3 separate regions of the Homo sapiens genome follow, and regions 1 and 3 are each linked to region 2. Evidence: promoter capture Hi-C in 16 types of primary human blood cells and fetal thymus (Javierre and others, 2016). All regions are on one chromosome and are shown on one strand. Each heading gives the region's core, a stretch centred on a gene start or on the middle of the fragment in contact. The rest is flanking DNA. Distances are from core to core; before and after follow the strand shown. Region 1 overlaps DYM (dymeclin). Region 2 holds the start of CFAP53 (cilia and flagella associated protein 53). Region 3 overlaps LINC02837 (long intergenic non-protein coding RNA 2837).

Region 1 (2,700 bases), core at 132-2,631, 820 kb before region 2:
TCTACTAAAAATACAAAAATTAGCTGGGTGTGGTGGCAGGCGCCTGTAATCCCAGCTACTTGGGAGGCTGAGACAGGAGAATCACTTGAAACCGGGAGGTAGAGGCTGCAGTGAGCTGAGATCACGCCACTGCACTCCAGCCTGGGCAAGACAGAGGAAGACTCCATCACAAAAAAAAAAAAAAAATGTTAAGACCTAAAGGACAAGAAGGGTTGGCCTGGGTGGATGTGGGAGTTCAGAAACTTCCAAAGCAGAGAACAGCACGTGTGAAGCCCTGTGGTTAAGAAATAACAGGTAGGGCCTGTTCAAGGACCTGAAAGAAGTTTAACATGGCTGGAACAGAAAAGGAATCAAAGCAGAAGCATAAGAGACCAGAAAGTACCTTTTTCGAACACGTCTCTTTCTCAAGGAGCTGCTCTCCTCTCTCCTTTCTTCTGTCTATTAAGCTTTCCACTCCTTAACCCACCCACATGTCCGTGTCCTAATTCTTTCTCGGCAGGCAACAACAAACCCTAGGGTATACACCCCAGATAGTGTAGCCACTTCATAATGGCAGCTTTGTCCGGGATACCAAGGTACAACATTCATAAGAACGGTAAGGGGAAGAGCGAACTCTAACTCTGTCCTTTCATTCCAAGGTTCTCGGCTTCCATTTTAGACCTTTCATGGAGGACTTAGCTGTCGTGTGGGGCTGGAAGAAGTCCTGGGGCAACTGAGGATTTCTGGCCGGCGCTACCCCCTGGTGTTATCCAAAGGCTTCTGGACCCCAGCCGCCAACCGCCCCAATGCGGTGTCGGCAACAGGATCTCCAACTTTCCTATTGTAATCTCCTCCTCTCCTGTTCGCAACCGTCATATCTCTTATCCTCTCTGTATGAAATGTGTGGGAAGTTTTATGGTTCAGGGAAGTAGTCTTGTTTGGTAAGATCAGGGAATGTCGTAGTAACAAGGCATATAGCTCAAGGGGAAGCGTCTTTGTGATTTTCTAAGAACAGGGCTCCCTGACCCCCCAACAGTGAGAATCTCTCTTTCTCTGCCCTTGGTCTGGAGAGCACATGGCATTTTCCAGGTCTCTCTCTGCCCTTGGTCTAGAGAGTATGTGGTGTTTCAAGGTCAACAGCGCCACCTAGTGAAATAGGAATCCTCTCCATGAAGCACACTGTCAGTCCAATGAAACATCCTAGCCTCCCAATTCTCTTTCCTTTTTGTGCCTCTCTACTAGAAACCAGGCTTTATGCTGGTTCTGTAAATGAGAAAACTCTGCCTTCAACAATTAGGGGTAAAATATTCCTCCAAAGCCAAAATTTAGTCTCAATACTGTCTCATCAGCAGGAAAATGGCCATTCAATCCCTAAGTTTTTTTAAGCCACCTATTCTGCCTTCAATTAGAGTAGTACTTAATTAGTAAGGGAATTTTAAGTTTGGAAGTTAACTGGAACCATTATCTAAGGGTAAATGCTTCAGCACAGGCCATAATAGCAGGATACAGAGTTCAATCTAGCACATCCCCTGCATTAAAGGGGCCTTGCCCAACTATTATGTAGTTTTTCTTGAAATCCATTTTTCAGGAAGCCAGGCAAGTCACACAAGTCTAGGAAGTTAAAGGGAAATCACAGGCAGAGGACTACAGCCACTTGGGTGAGCATGACTAGCCCCAGTGACTTAGTTCCTCTGGTTCCATGACTGGGGGTCACACTTGCAACCATGGGCAGCATGTTCAACAAGGTGCCTGGGACCCAGGAAACACAGGGGGAAAAAAGCAGGGGGGATGCCCCCACTGCTTCCTCTCCACCATGGGTCACACCAAAAGGAAGGAGACTAAAGGGCCACCTTTTTCTCTAAGTGGGTACCATCTTCATCCTGCACTCCCCTGGAGTGCATTCTGAAGCACAAGGATTTCTTTGACCCTGAAACTTTAAAAAGCAGCTCATTTTCTTTTGCACAGGGCATGGCCTTTTTACTAGACCTTTGCAAGCGTTACAGAATTAACCCAGCCCTTTTAGCAATCATATTGAGCAGGCCCAAAGAGAATAATTCCCCAAAATGAGAGAAGCAACTTCTGGGGAAATCATCTGAGGCAGCTATTGGGTGTCCCAGCCCTTCAAGTCCCCCTTATTTAGGGCCACCTCCAACCATACCACCAGTTCTTCCACCTCCACCATCTCCAAAATTTCCCACTCCCCACTTTCACTCTTACCTCTACAGGAAATGCCCAATGGAGGTGATGTCACTAGGGTTCAAGTTCCCTCCTCTTTGCAAGACCTTAGGCAAATAAAGGTGACTGAGGCCAATTTTCTGAAGACCCTGATAGGTATATAGAAGCTTTCCAAAATTTAACTCAGGTGTTTCACCTCTCATGAAGAGATTTTATGTTGCTTCTAAGCCAAACCCTAATTACAGCTGAAGAGCAGGCAGCAAAGAAATTGAAAGATAAGCAACGTTTCCTATAGTAGGCCTAAAACGAAAAGAGAAAATAGGGAAGGCAAAGAAATAAGAGAAACACAATTCCCAATAGGAAGAGAGGCGGTACCTCTTGACAACCCTAACTGGAATCCCCAGACTTTTCTATGGTGTTTTTCCTTCTTTCACAGTGTACAATGGTTCCTATCTCTTCCTGTATAATGTTCCTCCAAAGTAGGAAAAGTTAATTTCCCCAAACCTTAAAATGGTTGACTTAGAGTTGAGCTAATGGGAAGGGAAC
Region 2 (2,700 bases), core at 7-2,506:
AAGTGGAAAATTTCACACCTGACCTCATGTAAGGGGTCACAGTCAAAACACAAGCAAACAACACATATTTATTCAGCATCCCCAAGGGGAAAATAAAATTACCTTCGAGGTAATGAAATATAAATAAATTCTGTGTTTAGACTTGGGTCCCCTCCCCAAGATATTGCATTATGTATATGCAAGTATTCCAAAATCCAAAAAAAAAATCTGAAATCCTAGACATCTCTGGTCCCAAGCATTTCAGATAAGGGATACTTGACTTGTATAAGCTCCTTGAAGGGAGGGCTCAGGCTTCAATAAAGAGTTAACCTTCCAGGATCATTGTATCCACCCCTGTATCTCCCACAATACTGCGCACACAGCAGGGGCTCAAGCAATAACTCTGCCTACATGTTAGTTTTCTGGTGGGTAGAAACTAATTTGTAGAAACAAAAAAATCTACATGTATGGACCAATAGTGTCTGAGGTTCTCAGCAGGAACCATCAAATTCTGCAGCAAGCACATTTTCCTGGCCTACTACCACTCCAGCCTTAGAGGCAGGCACCTGAGTTTTTCCCAGGTCTGAAGGGACACTTCTGTCCAGCAATGGTTACTGGTTGAGTTGGCACAGGAAAGGCGTTGGGTGCTATAACCACTCACAACCTAATTCCCCTTCCTCAGACGATTTTCCTAGGAGTGAAAGACCAGCTCCAAATCATAGGCCCGCCCTGCCCCCAGATCTGTCTCTGGGCCGGGTGCCCTTTCCATAACACACACTCGCCACTGCATGGGGGACAGACATCCTTCCGGTGTCTTGGAGACTGAAAAACCCTAAGATCCCTAGTGGTGATTCTCCAAAAACAGAACCTAAATATTATAACTTTGGGGGCAGATGAAAGGCTGTAAGGATGAAAACAGAGGGAGATGAGTGGGTGAGAGGTGGGGTAGATAGGTGAGCGACCTTATCTTCCTTCTTTCAAAATTCAACCCACTGCATCAGGCGACACCCGTTCCCCTCGAGAAGGCCCCGGGTGGGGGCCGAAGTGGGATAGGCCAGGCCTGGAGTGCGGAGAGATGGAGAAAGCTGTAGGGTCTGGCAGACATATCCTGTGCTTACCACGATCACCACTTTGGGGGTGGGGCCCTTAACCTCCCGCTGTACGGTGCCAAACCGCTGGCTGTACATTTTCGAGTCCCCTTCGGGACGGGGGCGGCGTCCGCCGCGTTTCCCCCAACCGTGGCGACCTGCGGGACCCGCTTCCGCGACGCAGAAGTCTGGTTGCCATGGTGCGCCTCGCGGGATTAGGGGCCGGTAGAGGTGGGCGGGTCGGGCGGAAGTCGGTCTGGTCACCATGGGGGCCGCAGACGCCTGCACTCGGGACTTCCTCTTCCAGCTGAGAAGCTGAGCCTGCGCAGTCCTCACCCCGCCCCTCGGCCAAATCCCGCCGACCTTGCTCCCTTCCTCCAGGGTTCATCAGAATGGCAGAAAAAACCTCTAGCCCAAGAAAAATCAAAGCTCTAATTACAATTCCAGTTGACTTTGCTATTTATATCTTGTAATGGTCTAAAAGTATGAAAAAGGTTAGCGAACATTTTTTGGGAAGCTTAAATTTTGCACTATCTGTAGGTTAATCTTGATGACGGTAATAATCACAGGAAAACCTTATATTTGTGTAGTTCTTTACAATTTCCAAGATATTTTCACACACACAGCCTTTTAACCTCACAGATTTTTTCTGAGACAAGGTCTCGCTCTGTCGCCCAGGGTGGAGTGCAGTGGCGTGATCATGGCTCCCTGCAGCCTCGTCCTCCTGGGCCTCAGCCTCCAGAGTATCTGGGACTACAAAGCCTGCGCCACCACGCCCTGCTAATTTAAAAACAAATTTTGAAGAGACAGGGGGTCCCGCTATGTTGCTCAGGCTGGAACTCCTGCTCCTGGGTTCAAGCGATCCTCCCCACTGCCCCTCCCGCCGGCCTCCCAAAGTGTTGGAATTACAGGGTGCGCTACCGCGCGTGGCCGCAAATATCTTACAGGGTTGATAGAATAGCAAGTAATACTATCCTTATTTTCCAGCTAAGGCAAAGCTCAGGGAGCCTAAGTGCCTTGTCAAACCAAATAACCAGTAATAATAATAATTTTTTAAAACCTGTTAATAAAATCTTCCTATTTGCCATTGGCAGAAACCAGGGCTTAGACTCAGGATATCCTAGGATGGGGGCAGATCAAATGGACTAGTGGGGCAGTGGCACGACCTGGTGGAGCATAATTAAGAGTCTGAGGGTCACAGTGGACCAGGGTCAGGATGTGGATCAGAAGTCCAGTAACTGGTTTCTGAGAATCAGGATCCAGGCAGAACAGGAAACACAAATCAGGGAACCAGGACGGACCTGCAGCACAGGTGGTAACCACAGTTGCATTTCCAGTCAAGAGCAAGGTGGTAATACCTAAAAGCCAATTAAGAATGACACTGTGATACTCCCATTCTAAAGTGGGGGTGAGCATAGAACACTTGTGAGCACATGCAACAAATCAGTACCTACGTCAAACTGACATATAATAAGTACAACTAATGTGTATGCCCTCTTAAGGACGCAATTTACTGTAAATTAGCATTCCTTAATCATTTGTAAACCACCCACTTCGGATTTTGTATGTGGTATGTTTCTAAATACGAATTCCATTTCCTGAATTGCTGGTTCAGCTTTTCAGCCACGAAATA
Region 3 (2,700 bases), core at 158-2,657, 760 kb before region 2:
TGGATCACGAGGTCAGGAGATGGAGATTATCTTGGCTAACACGGTGAAACCCCATCTCTCTCTACTAAAAATACAAAAAATTAGCCGGGCATGGTGGCACACGCCTGTAGTCCCAGCTACTTGGGAGGCTGAGGCAGGAGCATGGCTTGAACCTGGGAGGCGGAGGTTGCAGTGAGCCGAGATCGCACCACTGCACTCCAGTCTGGGTGACAGAGCGAGTCTCTGTCTCAAAAAAAAAAAAGAAAAAGAAAAAAGAAAAGAAAAGAAAAAATTAGCCGGGCATGGTGGTGCGTGCCTGTAATCCCAGGTACTCGGGAGGCTGAGGCAGGAGAATCTCTTGAACCCGGGAGGCAGATGTTGCAGTGAGCCAAGATCGCACCATTGCACTCCAGCCTGGGTGACAGAGTGACTCCATCTCAATAAATAAATAAATAATAAGTAAAATTTTAAAATTATTCAAAAATTTAAGATTATTTATATGTGTTTTATAGAAAGTCAGATATAGCAGGTAAGCAGATTAAGAAAATAAAATCCTTATATTTCCAAAAGATTAAGCTTTAATATATCCTTCTAGTATAGTGTGAGATATATACTTCATGTGTGTATGTATATACATATATACTTACCAGGTGAAATTATACTGTACATGCTATTTCATAATCAGATTTTTTTCCAGTTAATCTCAATTTTACCATGTTGATACATTTTCATCTCTTCTAATACCTAACCTCAATTTCAGTTATCCCAGTTGTTCCCCAAATGTCCTTTCCAGTTGGTTTGTTCAAAGCAAGACCCGCCAGGCACACTGACTCACACCTGTAATCCCAGCACTTTGGGAAGCTGAGGCAGGCAGATCACTTGAGGCCAGGAGTTCGAAACCAGCTTGGCCAACATGGTGAATCCCTGTCTCTACTAAAAATAGAAAAAATTAGCAGGGTGTGGTGGCACACACCTGTAGTCCCAGCTACTCTGGAGGCTGAGGCATGTGAATTGCTTGAAGCTGGGAGACAGAGGTTGCAGTGAGTTGAGATCATGTCACTACACTCCAGCCTGGGTGACAGAGCAAGGCTCTGTCTCAAACAAACAAACAAACAAACAAACCAACCAACCAAAGCAGCCACACACACACAAAAAAACCAGAAACAAAGCAAGACCCAATCTAGGTCCCACATGACATCTGGTTGTTGTTTCTTTTTATTTTATTTTTGAGACAGAGGCTTGCTGTCACCCAAGCTAGAGTGTATTGGCGCGATCTCGGCTCACTGCAACCTCTGCCTCCGGGGTTCAAGTGATTCTCCTGCCTCAGCCTCCTGAGTAGCTGGGATTACAGTCGCCCACCATCACGCCTGGCTAATTTTTGTATTTTTAGTACAGACTGGGTTTCACTATGTTGGCCAGGTTGGTCTTGAACTCCTGACCTCAGGTGATCTGCCCGTCTCGGCTTTCCAAAGTGTTGGGATTACAGGCATGAGCCACCGTGCCTGGCCAGGTTGTTCTCTTTCATAATCAGTTTTAGAATCAGAAAATTTAACATTTACTATAATAATATTATCTAACCTAGAGACCATATTTAATTGCCGCCAATTTTCCCAACAATATCTTTTATAGAATTTTTTTTGGACGAAGAGCCAAATTCAGAATAAGGCATTGTGTTTGGTTGCCATGTCTCTTTATTTTTCTTTAATCTGAATAGCTTGGCATTCTTTGTAAAAAGAGCTTTCTCTTATTAACTGGGGTGATTTGGTTGTCCTAAAATACAGTTTCTAGAACTATGATAACTATAACCAGAAAATGTAATCTTTAAAAAATATAAACTATATAATATAACACTCCCCACTTCTCTCCAAAGCACTTCCCAGGTTAAAACCCTTGAAAGACTTCACATTTCACACCCAATAAAGTCCAAACTGCTTACTGTGCTGTGCAGGCTGATCTAGCTCCAGGCCCTCATTTCCTATACTTTTCCTCTGCACTGACTTTGCTCCAGCCACATTGGCTCCTTGCTGCTTCAGGGATACAGTCAACTCATTCCTGTCTTGATGCCTTTGCTTTTGCCCTTCCTTCCAATGATTTACAACTAGGTCTTCACGTGTTGGCTTCTTCCAGTCACTGAAGCCTTAACTCCTTCCCTGACACTCAGTCTATGGAGCTCCTCTCTGACATAATCTTGTTTTATTGTCTTCACAACATATCTCACTGAATGAAATTATCACATTTATTAGTTTTCTTCTTAAATTTCTATCTCCTTTTCAAAAAATGTAAGCTTCATGAAGACATGGTTCTTTTTTTTTTTTTTTTTTTTTTCTGAGACAGAGCCTTGCTCTGTCGCCCAGGCTGGAGTATAGTGGCGTGATCTTGGCCCACTGCAACCTCCGACTCCCGGGTTTCGATGATTCTCCTGCCTCAGGTTCCCCAGTAGCTGGGATTACCGGCGCATGCCACCACGGCTAATTTTTGTATTTTTAGTAGAGAGGGGGTTTCGCCATTTTGGCCAGGCTGGTCTCGAACTCCTGAGCTCAGGTGATCCGCCCACCTCGACCTTCCAAAGTGCTGGGATTACAGGCATGAGCAACTGTGCCTGGCAGAAGACATAGTTCTTGTCTGTTTTTTTTTCCTCTAGTGCCTAGAATAATTTTTTTGTTTATGATAAGTTCTCAACAAATATTTCTTGAATTACAACATAATACTGGAAGTCCTAGC

The links. The method cuts DNA at HindIII sites, captures the fragments that hold promoters and counts their contacts. A CHiCAGO score of 5 or more calls a contact.
Region 1: a contact is called between a fragment that was not itself captured here and the fragment with the promoter of CFAP53 in region 2, in 1 of 17 cell types (total CD8 T cells). The highest score is 5.9, in total CD8 T cells.
Region 3: a contact is called between a fragment that was not itself captured here and the fragment with the promoter of CFAP53 in region 2, in 16 of 17 cell types (total CD8 T cells, activated CD4 T cells, non-activated CD4 T cells and 13 more). The highest score is 16.0, in total CD8 T cells.

What each region holds. Positions count from the first base shown.
Region 1 is chr18:49,446,891-49,449,590 of GRCh38, forward strand. The region is part of intron 1 of DYM (dymeclin); the gene reads right to left. Among named protein-coding and RNA genes, the nearest start is that of DYM, 12 kb to the right of the region's middle. The HindIII fragment of the contact is 1,875 bases long and covers 445-2,319 here.
Region 2 is chr18:50,265,239-50,267,938 of GRCh38, forward strand. CFAP53 (cilia and flagella associated protein 53) reads right to left here and starts at 1,257. Exons shown (of 8, transcript NM_145020.5): 1 at 1,098-1,257. The coding sequence starts at 1,166. It also overlaps a transcript of MBD1 not described here. RefSeq lists enhancers at 661-1,506, 853-982, 1,153-1,222. The HindIII fragment of the contact is 1,610 bases long and covers 1-1,582 here.
Region 3 is chr18:49,502,049-49,504,748 of GRCh38, forward strand. The region is part of intron 2 of LINC02837 (long intergenic non-protein coding RNA 2837); the gene reads left to right. Among named protein-coding and RNA genes, the nearest start is that of LINC02837, 4.0 kb to the left of the region's middle. The HindIII fragment of the contact is 1,708 bases long and covers 554-2,261 here.